3 separate regions of the Homo sapiens genome follow, and all the other regions are linked to region 2. The links are contacts of gene promoters, found by promoter capture Hi-C in human tissues and cell types (Jung and others, 2019). All regions are on one chromosome and are shown on one strand. Each heading gives the region's core, a stretch centred on a gene start or on the middle of the fragment in contact. The rest is flanking DNA. Distances are from core to core; before and after follow the strand shown.

The links. The method cuts DNA at HindIII sites, captures the fragments that hold promoters and counts their contacts. A contact is called where the count stands out against the background at its distance.
Region 1: a fragment that was not itself captured here is called in contact with the fragment with the promoter of EDNRA in region 2 in 3 of the 25 tissues and cell types used here (H1 embryonic stem cells, IMR-90 fibroblasts and bladder).
Region 3: a fragment that was not itself captured here is called in contact with the fragment with the promoter of EDNRA in region 2 in 4 of the 25 tissues and cell types used here (dorsolateral prefrontal cortex, heart left ventricle, mesendoderm cells and 1 more).

What each region holds. Positions count from the first base shown.
Region 1 is chr4:147,332,056-147,336,903 of GRCh38, forward strand. No RefSeq gene overlaps it. Among named protein-coding and RNA genes, the nearest start is that of MIR548G, 10 kb to the right of the region's middle. The HindIII fragment of the contact is 4,524 bases long and covers 485-4,848 here.
Region 2 is chr4:147,478,838-147,483,694 of GRCh38, forward strand. EDNRA (endothelin receptor type A) reads left to right here and starts at 2,260. Exons shown (of 8, transcript NM_001957.4): 1 at 2,260-2,539. RefSeq lists enhancers at 2,950-3,049, 3,080-3,159. The HindIII fragment of the contact is 3,954 bases long and covers 559-4,512 here.
Region 3 is chr4:147,284,067-147,288,292 of GRCh38, forward strand. No RefSeq gene overlaps it. Among named protein-coding and RNA genes, the nearest start is that of MIR548G, 59 kb to the right of the region's middle. The HindIII fragment of the contact is 4,986 bases long and covers 1-3,930 here.

The sequences.
Region 1 (4,848 bases), core at 1,497-3,996, 150 kb before region 2:
CTCTAAGGGAGGAAAAAAGCACACAAAATTGGGGAGCTGTTGCCCACAAGGTCTCTTTTTTTAGCTGTGTATGGATATTTGCAATTAGGACATATCCTTGTACAAGTTCTCTTCCCTTTCCCCAGTGCAAACTGCGCATGGTCATTGTCTACAACCATGCTGTTCCTGTGATTTATGTTGGAGAGAGGGCCTTGCTCCTGTGCTGAAGACTTCCAAATTGCTTTGGTGGTTCAACTGCCAATGCATGTTAGTTTTGGCAGAGTGGACATGGAAAACTGTTCTCATATTCTTTGGCTCCTATGCTTTGCATGTCAGATGAAACAGCAATGCAGAACTAAAACTGTTCCAGACCAAAGAAGACTTTGGGTTTTGTTTAGCTTTTGGGAGACTCAGAGTCATAGTGAGAAAGGAACTCTTCTGCAATCCAGAGATGTGCCTTCTAGACCTGGCACTGCCACTCATGGTGGTAAATCATTCTGCTTGCAGAGTCTCAATTTCTACACCTCTGAACCAGGGAATTTACACTAGGTAAATTGATGATCACTAGTAAAATAGAGTAACTCAAGTTAACGTCTTCAACAACTCTTCTAAATTTACATCAAGGAAAGGCTTTATTTAAAAACTGTATCTTCTGTTGTCCTAGCCAAGATTGGAAAGATAAATCACTTCAAGGAGTTACAGCTATATTTCCACTAAATCATTTCAATTATTTAGGTATTCATTAAATATGTACTAGTCTGTATGCTTCTGATGAAATTAGTTGAATGAAAATGTTACCTTTATTTACATACCGTTTTTCCTCTTTCTTCCATCCAACAATATCACTTAGAGAAGGAGGATTATTATTTCAAGCTATGGGAAAGCAAAAGGGAATCTAATAAGGATTTGTTTGCTTCATTTAAAAGGGAAAGTATTGAATTTTTATTTACGCTATTAGGGTAATACCGTATCTATTACAGAAATTTGAAAACAACATAGAAAAAGGGGAATTGTCAATGGTTTTACTACTCCTTGTCAACCATAATTTAATAATTTTTCTTTCAGACTTTTTCTAGGCATTTATTTTTCAGAAGGAACCAGGCCTCCTTTTTTACTTAGTTGTGAGCATAACGCATATACAATTTTGCATCCTGCTTTTCTCATCTAACATAAGCATGTTTCCATGTTACTACAAACTCAGTATTTTTCATGATTGCATATTGTTCAACAAATGTATATATATATATATATATATATATATACTGGAATTTACAGAGCTGTTTTCCATAGGTGAGTATTTCATGTGGTAAATTGTTAAACAATTTACATTTTTGTGTATAAAGAACATAAAGCTTTCGTCAAAGAGTGAGGGTGGGGATTGCATTACTTGGAGATCAAATATTGTAGCAAAGAGGAGCAGCAGCCAGGAACCTCCCAGCTACCAGGCACCTCTTCAGAATAGGGGCAAACAAGCATTCCATGGAAAGGCCTCATCCCATGCCTGGGTGGAGATCTGACAGCCAAAGGAAGCATGCCTCCCAGCAAGCAACTCAGAACAAATGCTTATTCCCAGGAGAAGTCCCGCCTACTTTCCAGCCAGGCAAAAGTGCTCATCAAGGAAAATCTGATTTTCTACAACAGCAGAAAATGGCTTCCAAAGTAGCAGGAGTTAAGGGGCCAATTTGGTTGAGGACAAATTCTACTGTCCCAAAGCACTGCAATGCAGTGAGGTGAGTGAGCCATCCCCTGTAGAGCGGGAGTCATAAGGAAAAGGAAATACAATCGGCTTCCAGTCCCAGTATATCCATAAGAAAATTTTCATAATTGCTCATATTATGAAATTGCTGGGTCTGCAATGCATTCATTTATATTATTTGTAGAAGTTGCATAAACAAAATTTTTTAACTATTTTCCTTTCTTTTAAGTAGCACTGGAGTTGGGGGAATATACAGAGGATTCATCCCTCACTAACTGGGCCATCTTAGCTGAATTATATGTTTACATTTTTCATAACTACCCTAAAAGATATATGGAAGACATAAAATCATATTGCTAAGAAAAATTCCCAATAGTAGTTTAAAATGTATCAATGACAATAGAAAGGGATATCTGTGTTGATGACTTAGAGAACTACCATAGCTAAATTAACATAGGCCTTGAAGTGTTAAGACATAGAATAGTGATTTTGCAAAGGTTTACAATTAAAAATGACTTTTGACCAAATTTTTTAAATAGGCAGAAAAATAAACTATATAAATCCAATTGTAATATATCTGAGTGTACACATCCTAAGAAAATGCAAATTGCCATCAGAGAAGTTAAAACAAATCAAAGAACATTATTTTGATGATGAAGTCTATTAGATACTGGGCTGATTACTCAGTTCCTTAATTCCCTTTTCTTCTAAGTATTTAAAATATGGCAGAGAACTTCCTCTCTTAAAAAAAAAATTCAGGAGGAGTTCTGTGAAAGAGAAAGATGGCCTGTAGTCTAGACGGTCTCTTAGGAGCTCTTCTTGTATATTAATCCTGAATTTCACTCATGACTCATCTCCTTAGAGGTAATCTAAACAGATTAAGAAGCTTCTTTTTTTTCTTCTTCCTTTTGGCTTTGGGAGCTAGTATAAAATTAATATTTCCTGTTCCCTCCCAAGAACCCTGGAACCTTTGCAAACAGTTGTTAAACATCTATAATTCCTTCCCACATTCACTCAACATTTACCACCACTCCCAAGATAAGCAACCCCCACTTTAAGGTATTATAGTGTCAAACACTGCAATAAAGGAAAGAGTGACTTAGAGCAGCTGGTAAACATAGGCTTCTGATTCAAGAGAATACAGCAAAAAGAAGGGATGATTTTTGTTTTAGACAAGAATTCAGAGAGTTTCAAAATTCTATTACTACTTCAAAACCTCATTCTATTAGATGATATACAACTTAATTTATAACTTAGTTTCACTTTTCCTTCAGGCCAAACTATATGTAAAACAATAACAAGGCCCACTAAATTTTATTTTTTGTATTGTACATTCATTTTGTTGTGGAACTCTGGTTTGTTGGAGTCAACTGCAGCAATGTTTCATAATTTACTCTGGTAAATTTCTGCTGGTTTTTGCAAAGAGAAACTTGAAGAATTTTAGCAAAGATTGATGTGCTGCACAAAATACCTTCACAAATCAAATTCAGAATGCTGAGAGACAACATCAAAGGAAAAATTGTTTCTACCATCTTTCAGAAAGAAATCTTTGCAACCATGTCTAACCAAGGGTTTATATAATATAGCATTCTTAATGGGATTTGGTTTTGTCAGGAAATACATTAAATTGAGTAACACTCAAAGGAGAGACAAAAAAACCCACAAGACTGTCTTTGGATTTCAGTCTTAAAGTCATTCTTTACCAAATAGCGGTAACAACCCCATTAACCCAGTTCACATCTCCACACTGTTAGTTGATTCACTTGATTTCATACACTGTTGGTATACATTTTAAGTAAAAGCTCTTTTAAGTTTTAAAGATCTCTATCCCCATAGTCAATGATGCAAAGGTTCAGGCCCCAGACACTAAATTGTAGTGCTTGGAAAACAATAAAAAGACAAATTTTACAGTGTTTCCCAATTAATCAAAGGAATACTTGATCTAGGATTGAACCATAGCCCCTGTAGTCATAGATGACTTCCTTAGATAATATAATCTACTAACCAGTAAGAATTTACCATGTTGTAATTTTGTGATTATTTTTGCTTTTATTTGTTATATGGGTTTTTAGAAATTAGGAATCTACTACAGGCACCATTAAAAAAAACATCGTTGTCTCACCCAATGACTCTAGAAATCCTTGAGAAAGTATGGTGGGGAGTTCATCACCAAATGGATTTTAATACCTGGGCGCATGTTTCTCAAACCGGTGTGCATTGGAATCACAGTGGTTGAGTTGAAGCACCTACAATCTAGTGAGTTCAACAGGTGATATAGATGCCCATCCAAGTTTTAGAACCACTGATCTAGATTGCACATCCAAAATCCCTTCCATTTTGTCCCAGAAATTAATTTTTACTGTATCTTGCCTTATCAAATCTGATTGAAATGTAGTTTTTCCTTAATTTCTAAGACTGCCAATAGCCTTTGTCAATTCTGTATATAATTATTCTCTGGTCTTATTAATAACAACTCACTATGCCTGGCTAAGTCTCCCCTGATCCTACGGAGAGAAAAGAAGAGAGAGGTCAGTTCCACCAAAGGGAACACCTGTGGCTGAGTGAGAAGTGAGTTCAATTAGCCTAGTTCAGTGCATCCCAATTTCCTTAGAGAAAAAGAACATTTCCAGCCTTGAAGTAAACTGCTATAACAGCTGAATCTAGATTAAATACGTGACACTGCTTCCCCTTTTTGAAGCTCCTAGTTGTTCAGAAAACACCATGAGCAATCTGTTCACAATTTCCTGTAGCCAGACCAACACTAATTCCCAATGATGTCAGTCACTTCTTCTTAATGAGATTTTGCACAGCCCTTTGCCATCGTACAATTTGTTCTTAAAGAGAACATGCTAAGATATAGTTTGTTCTTGCTGCATTTCATTGACCTGGAGAAGTGCCTGGAACATAGTAGGCACTCAATAATAAATATTTGTTGAATGAATGAATGTTTTCTTGCACTTCATGTGATCTTTATAATTATTAAGACATAATAAACTTAGTTAACAGTTACTCTGTAAAATATCAAGAGTTATCTTTCTAATTATTGACCAGAGTTGACTTCCATTTGCAAACACATTCATCAATGAAACTTGTTTAAGGACAGCATTAATTCAGAGGTTTCTTGCCTATACCATAATACAGTTCTGATGCAATTCCAGATTTTCAGTATTAGT
Region 2 (4,857 bases), core at 1,010-3,509:
TCACTTAACATAATATCTTAAACGTTCATCCATGTGGTAGCATATATCATTCTTTTTTAAAGCTGAATAATGTTCTGTGTTATGTACATGTATTTATATACATATACATACATGTATATACCACATTTTGTTTATCCATTCTTCCACTGATGGATATTTGGATTGTTTCCATCTTTTGGCTAGTTTTCACCTTTTGGCTTTTCTGAATAATGCTGCTATGAATATGGGTGTACAAATATCTGTTTGAGACTCTGCTTTCAATTATTTAGGTAAGTACCAAAAAGTAGAATTGCTGGATCATAGGGTAATTTTATGTTTAATTTTTGGAGGGCTGCCATGCTGTTTTCCACAACTGCTACACTATATTTTACATTCAGACTGGCAATGCACAAGGGTTCCAATTTCTCAACATTCTTGCCAACACTTGTTCTTTGCTGTTTTTGCTTTTGTTTTACTATAATGGCTATCCTAATAGGTGTGAAGGAAGAATTTTTAGTAACTAGTCCTACACCACAGTGAGATCAGCTGTCTCAATAGGTGGGTCATGATGAATGTGTTCTAGCAAAGACTGGACAGATTGACATATTCAGATATGCAGGTGATGCACTGTCCAAGTGTGTCTGGCCACAGAGTGAATAAGGGCTGAAATCCAGCACATGTTTCACGGGCCAAGATGTGAACTGCCTCTTTTGGGAGGAAGCAGTAAGTTTTTCTTTCCCGAAAATATTGTCAGCTTGCCAAGCCACATGCCCAAAGGGTCACCTTTTTTTAATATAAACAATGGCACTTATAAAAGCTATTAGTTATTCTGGTTGGCTGATTCTCCCTCCTAGAGAAGCTGTAAGATTAGTGAACAGGGTAATATCTAGTCTAACCCTACTAGATGACTATTAAGGCCTCTTTCAATGGTGGTTTTCTGTAGATCTCTTTGATGGTTTTACAAAATGGTCCCTAAATTCTTTGACACTCCTCACACTAAGGGTTGGGCTCTATATACCCTCACCTTCAATCTGGGATTTGTGACTGCTTGACTAATAGAATCAAGCAGAAATGACACGGTGCCAGTTTCTGGGCCCAGCCCTTAAGAAACTGGCAGCTTCCACTTTCTGTCTCTGGGGACATTCACTCTTGGATCCCCGCCACCATGCTGTGAGGAAGCCCAAACCACAAGTCTCCACAAGTCTTTGTGGAGAGACGCACGTGGAGAAAAACTAACACTCAACACCAAGCAAGTGAACTGTCTTGGAAGTGGATCCTCCAGCCCCTGCTACATGGAGCAAAAACGAGCTGTCCCAGACAGGCTCTGCCCAAACTGCAGACTGATAAGCAGAGTAAATGAGTGTTGTTATTTTAAGCCACTACGTTTTATAGTAATTTGTTTAGCTGCAGCAGATAGCCGGAACAGCATGGGATATAACATGACCAGTGCTCCAACCTCACACTTCTACCATGTGCTGACTCTAGCAGTGCACTGAAGGACTCCAAGGCAGGCCTTCCCTGAGGAGACCCCAGTTTTTACTCACATGTCACAGGCAGTGGCCTTTGTCCCTCATCTCCTCTCCCACCCCCAATTTAGGATAAAGTATCTGCCGTGATAAAGACGTTGAGACCCACTTTCTGTAAGGTCGGCTTCTTCATTGTTTGAATTTCTTGAGGTTTCACGGAGCCACGCGCTGGAACCTTCCATAGTCTCTCCTGAGGCTCCTTCTTTGCCCTGGGCTGGAGGTCTGTAGCCGTGGGATGCTGGCTACAAGGGACAAGATAGAAGCAAACCACCTGATCCAGTAAACTGCTGTCCACTTCGGCTCCTCAACGGCCTCTAAGCTTAAGAGGGAGCACGCAAGCCAAGCAAAGGCGGCAGGGAAGACGGAGAAGAAACCACCCGTGGGCCCTGGCTCTGTGTCCAGTTGTTCCGTCACAGATCAAATCTGCCTGCACTAAGAGGATGGGTTCCTCTGCAAGGCCTTTCGGAATTCTGAGTCTTGTCTGTCAAACTCTACCCTCTCTCCTCCACATCCCCCACCTTTTCTTTCAGGAAGGAAATAGTTAAAAAAGACTCCTGCCCTTCAGGGCCTGGAAGGGGGCGGCAGCTTTGTGCTTTTTAGTGGCCGCGTCCCAGGATAGCTGGAAGGTTAGGACGCTCTTGCGGTCCCAGAGTGGAGTGGAAGGTCTGGAGCTTTGGGAGGAGACGGGGAGGACAGACTGGAGGCGTGTTCCTCCGGAGTTTTCTTTTTCGTGCGAGCCCTCGCGCGCGCGTACAGTCATCCCGCTGGTCTGACGATTGTGGAGAGGCGGTGGAGAGGCTTCATCCATCCCACCCGGTCGTCGCCGGGGATTGGGGTCCCAGCGAGACCTCCCCGGGAGAAGCAGTGCCCAGGAGGTTTTCTGAAGCCGGGGAAGCTGTGCAGCCGAAGCCGCCGCCGCGCCGGAGCCCGGGACACCGGCCACCCTCCGCGCCACCCACCCTCGCCGGCTCCGGCTTCCTCTGGCCCAGGCGCCGCGCGGACCCGGCAGCTGTCTGCGCACGCCGAGCTCCACGGTCGGTGCAAGTCTTTCTTATCGGGGACTGGGACTGGGGCGGGTGCGGGGATGGCGGAGACGCTGCCTGGGCCCCTCGGTCGGGAGAAGACGAGAGCTGGGAACGTTCTGGCCCGACCGCCCTGCAGCTTGGGCGACCCGTCGCAGCAGGGGCTGGCACCCACTTGCCCCAGGGCGCGCGGGGAGGCGGGCGCCTTCCGTGAGGGGTGCGCTGCGGACACGTGTAGAGTTCGGGGAACTTCACCTCTCCACGTTAGGGTTTAGGATTCGGAGTTTTAGGAAGAGGAAGCCCAATAGTTTTCCCTGGGTGACCCCTTTTCCCCAGGCATGCAAGAACTTTGAGGAACGCCAAGCTCTGTGGCTTGCTCCAGCGCCTTCTTGTGAAGTTGGCTCCACAGCCTTTTCTTACTGGCTTGCTTTTCCTCCCCCACATCTGGGTCTGGGTATGCCAAGGGTAGCCAAGGGCACTCGGTGTGAGGGACTGAGGTGTTTGGGGAAACCCCCTGTGTAGCTAGTTTTGGAAACCTGCCTGTGGAGGTCTGGGCGTTTTGTTCTGTGCTCGCCTTTAAAGGACACTTGTTGCTTCTCACGTGCAGAAAACAAGGGCTGCTTCTAGATAATCACCCTCTGTTTACATCATCCTAATGGCTTTCCCCTGATAGAGTTGGGGGTGGGAGGCATATTAAACTCAGGCGTTGTCTCTAAGGAGAGTTGCTCATTTCTTAACCAGAGAGCAAAACCTCAGAAAACTTGTAAAAAGTTCCTACTTTTACTTGTTTTTTCCTCCACCTGTAGTTGTCTATGTGTTAGCTAATTGAGAAACACCTTGGCAGTCATTTCATGTAAATTGAATGCTCTAAACTCATGCCATTTTGATAAGGTCTGAATTTCCAAATTACCAATTACAGGTGAACTTTGATCCTGAGAGTCTCATATGTTAAATGGTTAAAGTGTAAGCGTAAGGATTCAGTCCTCTTTCTTAATAATAGTTTTTGCACTCCCCAAACTCTCAGATTCCAAACAGGAAGAATGCTGAATCTATAGACCATGTCCTTCAGGTCTGAACCTGAGATGCTTCACTAGCGCTATGACTGATTATGAGTGATGATTCAAAGCACAGCCTGACTCAGATTCCTGGAAATGAGCTACAGACCCACCTTGGAAGAACCTGCAGTTGAGGGGCTTCTTTCATTTGGTTTTGTACTTTTCAGCCAATGATAATATGACATCCACAGGCCTTTGCCAAGTATCCCTTAGTTTTGCAGCTTAACATGTGTGGAGAGCTGATAGAGAAGTCATCAGAAATGATTTCTGTAGTGGTGTCATTGTTGGAGGAGGAAGGAAGGGGGTTTTAATGATAGCTGGCTCTCATGCCTTAAGAACCCACAGCGTTGGCCTTACCTCCTGGCATAATCAGCTAACCAAGCAGACCAGCATGCTAACGTTCAAAGCACCACAGGACCTCTGATGAGTAGAGCAGTACCCACCGTAGCCAGGTCAGTTCACAGGTCAGTTCCCAGCCGACTGTAACCGGCAGAGAGCCATTCCATTTCTGCAAAGGCCTTCTCTCTCTCATTTTTAAGAAAGCTGTTATTGAAGGTTCCCTTTCATTTGGGAAGCTGGAAGACGTTAGTCACGAAACAGCACAAGATATGAAAGTATTTCTTCTCCCCCCTGTATCTGTGATCCAAAAAGGAGGATGACAAGAAGCTTTTCTCTTGGAGTCCTGGTGTTCCCTTTGGAATGGAAATGGTGTCATTTCATAGGTCTATCAATTTTTGGCCAGATACTCACTCCAGATTATAAGAAGCAGGAAAAAACTGCAAACTGTTTATAATTAAGTCTAGTCAGAGCTGACAAATACATGGCCTGCCTCTAGCCTTGAAAAATTGATATTTTTCCCATTTAATCAGAGTGAGTCAAGTCCTATAAGCAAAATTATGTGTCCTGCCATTTCTTGGCTTTGAAACCTTGACCTAAATACTTCTTCAAGACTCTGGTTTCCTTATAAGTAAAATGGAGATATTGCTCCTGCCTACCTAGAGTCGTAAAGCTCAAGGCAGATAACAGATACATATATAATAAGTTACTATATGTAAATACTATTATTATTTCAGAGTTCAGGGGGAAATCTCTGGGGAAGGCAAAAGTATCCAATACTCGCACTTTATATATACCCTATACTTTCTATGCAACTTGAATAAATCTTATTTTATCCACGTATTGGCCAAACCTAAGCTTTACTGATTTCCCAAGATAATTGTCAAAATTCCTAAAAGTGGTTAACATCAACCTTGAATACACTCAGAAAAAGGATTC
Region 3 (4,226 bases), core at 188-2,687, 200 kb before region 2:
TGTTTTAATTTTAGTTATGATGAGAGATCTTTTTATGTACATTAATGTTGACCTAGTGGGAGATTTTTGTGTGGAGGAGGTCCTCTTAAATTTTTTTAATGCATTAGGTGAAATGAAAGTATCTATAATCTTCAAAAGCAAAAACTCCAAGAAACACAGTCATCTGATAATAACAGCAATGAAATGAAAGGAAAATATTGGCAAACATAATCTAAGAGACCCCTAGCTAGCAAGGTTCATAAACCCAGTTAGATAATCTTTCCCTACTCCCATTAAGTCATTGCCAAATCACTGCAATCAGATTTGAGTATCACTAATAGCAAATTGCTGGAAATTGAACCAGATGCTCAAAAGCTTTCATGATTATTCACCAAATAGCCAGAGATTAAAAACACTAGATAAGATCAATCTGGGCCAGGAAAGACCCAACAAGTTGTAATCAGTAACTTGAGCCATCTGGCCAGGCTCTGCCTTCTTTTGGGTCATAGCTTGGCAACTTCATTAGCATTATGCTTTGAGTTATAATTTTTAAATAATGTGGAACGTTATTTCTGTCATGAACGAGACAAGTGATAGCTGGAGATATAAATACTACTCTTGCTACACGCTATTATATGTTGAGATTAAGACAAATGGGGCATTTATATACTTGACTTAAAGGTGACTTGCTACATAAACTTTATAACCAATCCTGTCTTCAGACCTGCCAGTTGAAGATAAGAGTCCCCTCTACCCCCAAAATACACAATGTTCTGAAGATTTATGAAAACTAGTATCATCCAATAGCAATAATAATAATTTATTCATACAGGACTTTAAGGTTTTCATTGCTCTTTTGTCTACAGAATTTCAACAGTTTGAAATAGTGATATAAGTTTTCTCCTTCAATATCTTTATTTTTGCTACTCAAAGTCTGTCCCTGCATCAGCACCAATGGGGTAACCTGGAAATTTGTTAGAAATGCAGAGTATCAGCCTTACCCTAGACCTACTAAAAAAGAATATGTACTGTAACAACACCCCTAGGTGATTCATACACGTTAAATTTTTGCATGTATCAGAATCATCTAGAGTATTTGTTAAAACATGCTTTTTGTGTCTCACCAGGAATTCACTAGATCTGGAATGGGAAAAACAATTTGTATTTCCAACAAGTTCTCCATCATGTCCATGCTGATGGTCTGGAGACCACAGTTTAAGAACTACCATTCTTGCCTAGAGGATGTTATGTTTTTTCCCTAGTTTGGTAACAGATTATTCATGTTTCAAGCAAGATAATGCAGGGCATTAAGTTTAGGCACATTCCATTTAATAGCCGCTAACTTGATTAAAATTATGATTGACCAATGCAGAACATACATGTTGCAAGAGGCTGCCCAACTCACCAGGATTCTCCCAATCACAGCAGCTACGCTCCCTGTCCGATCTCCTGACAATGTGGATGGTTAGAACCAAAGTAGGCACAACACACCCTGTCTGGTCCAATCAAATTCTCTCATCTGGAATTTGAAATCCCAAATAAAGACAAGGCCTCTATTTTCTGATTTCCCCAGGCTTAGTGGTTCGGTTCTTCCACCAATCCTTTACATTACCCAATATTCTTCCAATAATTTATTATTTTAGCAAGTTTACAGAATTAGTAGAAATGCTTTTCATCATTTTTTAAATAATTATTTCTTCCAAGAATCCTTTTTTGTTTCAGTCTACCGATGTTTGAATAAAGGAGCCATAAGGGAGTGCCAGAGAGTATAAATAATGAAAACAGGCACTTCTTTTGCAACTCCAATGGCCATTATCCTTGTTCCCTATTGTTTATTGTCTGTTGAATCAGGACTGCATAACCTCTGAGAAGAACCCAGATGGGGATTCTGTTGGTGTTGGTACGATGCCCAGCACTGACAGTAACTGTGGAACCCAGTGCTCACATGTCTGCCCTTTTGTGTGTAGAGAAGTCATAACCATCCTGAAAACGTATTCTCGGCAAGTGGGGAGAAGCTATATGAAAATCAGCAGGGAAGGGGAAGAGTGGGGCATACCAGGAGCAGGAAAAAGAATGCCTTGCTCCAGCAGCTCTCATGAGGCACTCTCCATTTTCTAGAACATGCCAAGACTCCATTTCTGACATAAATTTTCAGTGCTTGGGAAAGACATTTTTACCCTGAGAAGGAACTCAGTATATGAAACTGCATCAGTAGTTGAACTTAGTCTCTGGAGAACCACCAAACTCTATGTAGGATTCCTGAAGGCAAGATTGGTCTGATTCACCAATCAGAACTACCGCCATCACCACCATCAAAGGTTTCCATGCTTAATCTCTCCAACTTTTCATAAGTTAATGTCCTCTTGGTGAACAAGATGTTAAGGAACAACAAGCTCCATGTCTCTAATTAGCACCACATTGAAGTATATCATTAGCTTTTAATTAAATCCTTTAACTAGTTGTTTCTTTTTCTAATGGTTAAAAGCATTCTGAACCAGTCAAGGCTGGAAACGACAAATAAATTCATAGAGCAATGCATCTGCATGGAGACCAAAGGGGCAACCAAGGAAGAGGGGACAGGAAACAGGCCTGTTGGCCTTAAATCCCAAGGCAGATGTTTCTTCCTTCCCTCCCCTCACAGGCTCACAGACTTTTATGGAGAAAGAGGATAACAAGATGAATTTGCAGCAGAGATGGTGACAGGACGTTGCAGGCCTGATGCTCATGGGGCCCCACAACATCTCTCATTCTCCAGTCAGCCCAGAATTGTCAAAGCACTGTCCTCCTGGTCTTCCTCAAATATAGGGCAGCTGGGGCGGCCCCCACTTCCCAGAGTCTTAAGAATATCCAAGCTTCACCTGGGGGTCAGAATAAAAATGACCTGTAGCAAGGAACTGTTACCTCCATATAGTAACCAAATAATTCAGGAGGAGAAGACAGGAGGCTCTCAAGGTTGCGATTTGAAGAAGTGTATTGCCATCTGCTTACCAGATGTAAAGACTTAAGAATAAACACAAAAGTAGATGAGAACCATAAGAAAAAGTAACCCAGATGTTAGCTGAGGCCTCTCTGGCCCTCAGAAAACAAGGTATGATTGATTCAAAGCTCCATTTTCATGTCCTGTGCAGGCCCAAATCCTTCTCCAAAATAACTATAAATTCCACTGAAGGAAGGCGTGAGGTGTAGGGACTGATAGGTTATAGATCACCTCTGGCTACAGCCTACTACTTCTTCAATCTACTGATCATCTCGACATCTTACAGGAGCTGCCTCTGCTCTGAGTCACATCAGCCCCATAGCAAACTCAGCATCTGTCTTAATCTCCTCACACAGGCAGGTGCACATTCTCTGTCTCTGTCTCTCTCTCACACAGACACACATACACATACACACTTTACAAGGAAATGAGTAAATGTGGTGTTATTTTAAGATTTGTCCAGATATGGAGGAGGGATTTTTTAAAGATTTGCGGGGACCGCTCTCCCAGGTGCATTTCAATAATTGCCTTGTTGTTTATCTGACCCCTCAGCCTCAGGCCATCTTGCTCACTCCACTTCTCTTCCTCCTTCTCTCTCTTCATTTCCTCTTTCTCAAGAGGAGAAATATATTCCTGTTATTGCCTCATGCAAAGCAGTTTGACGATCTCTTTTGCTGTCTTGGCTCCTGGCCTCACCATGTCCTCAGGATCTCAACTTCAGGGCAGCAGTTCTTGGTGTTGTCTAGAGAACAGCAGCAGCAGCATGACCTGGGAACTTGGCAGTGCAAATTCTCAGGTTTCACCACAGACCTACTAGATCAATAATTCTAGGGGCGGGCTCAGAAATCTGTCTTAACCAGACTTCCAAGTGATTCTGATGTATTAAAGTTTGAGAACTATTGCTTTAAAGAATAACAGTTAAGCAGCTGATAGAAGAAGAGCTGCCAGTAAAGAAATGGAGAATAGTTCCACCGCAAAACACTGCTTTCAGTGGCAGTGGCAACAAGTGGCTGGGAGGGAGGAGAACATAGGCCACCACCACCATCCCTGTAATCTCTTATTACTTTTCTAATGTAGAATCTCAATACAAATGCCCCATCTCCCAATTCCCACTAGATTGCCATACTTTTCCAATAAGCTCCTTTATAAAATAGTCTGAAGCTGCCAGTAATTGCTCTAGTGCTGCTTTAGCTGTTACATAAACGTGTGATACAAGATTCGCAGAATATATTTATAATCAGAAAACAGTTATTAAAGATAGATACAAAAT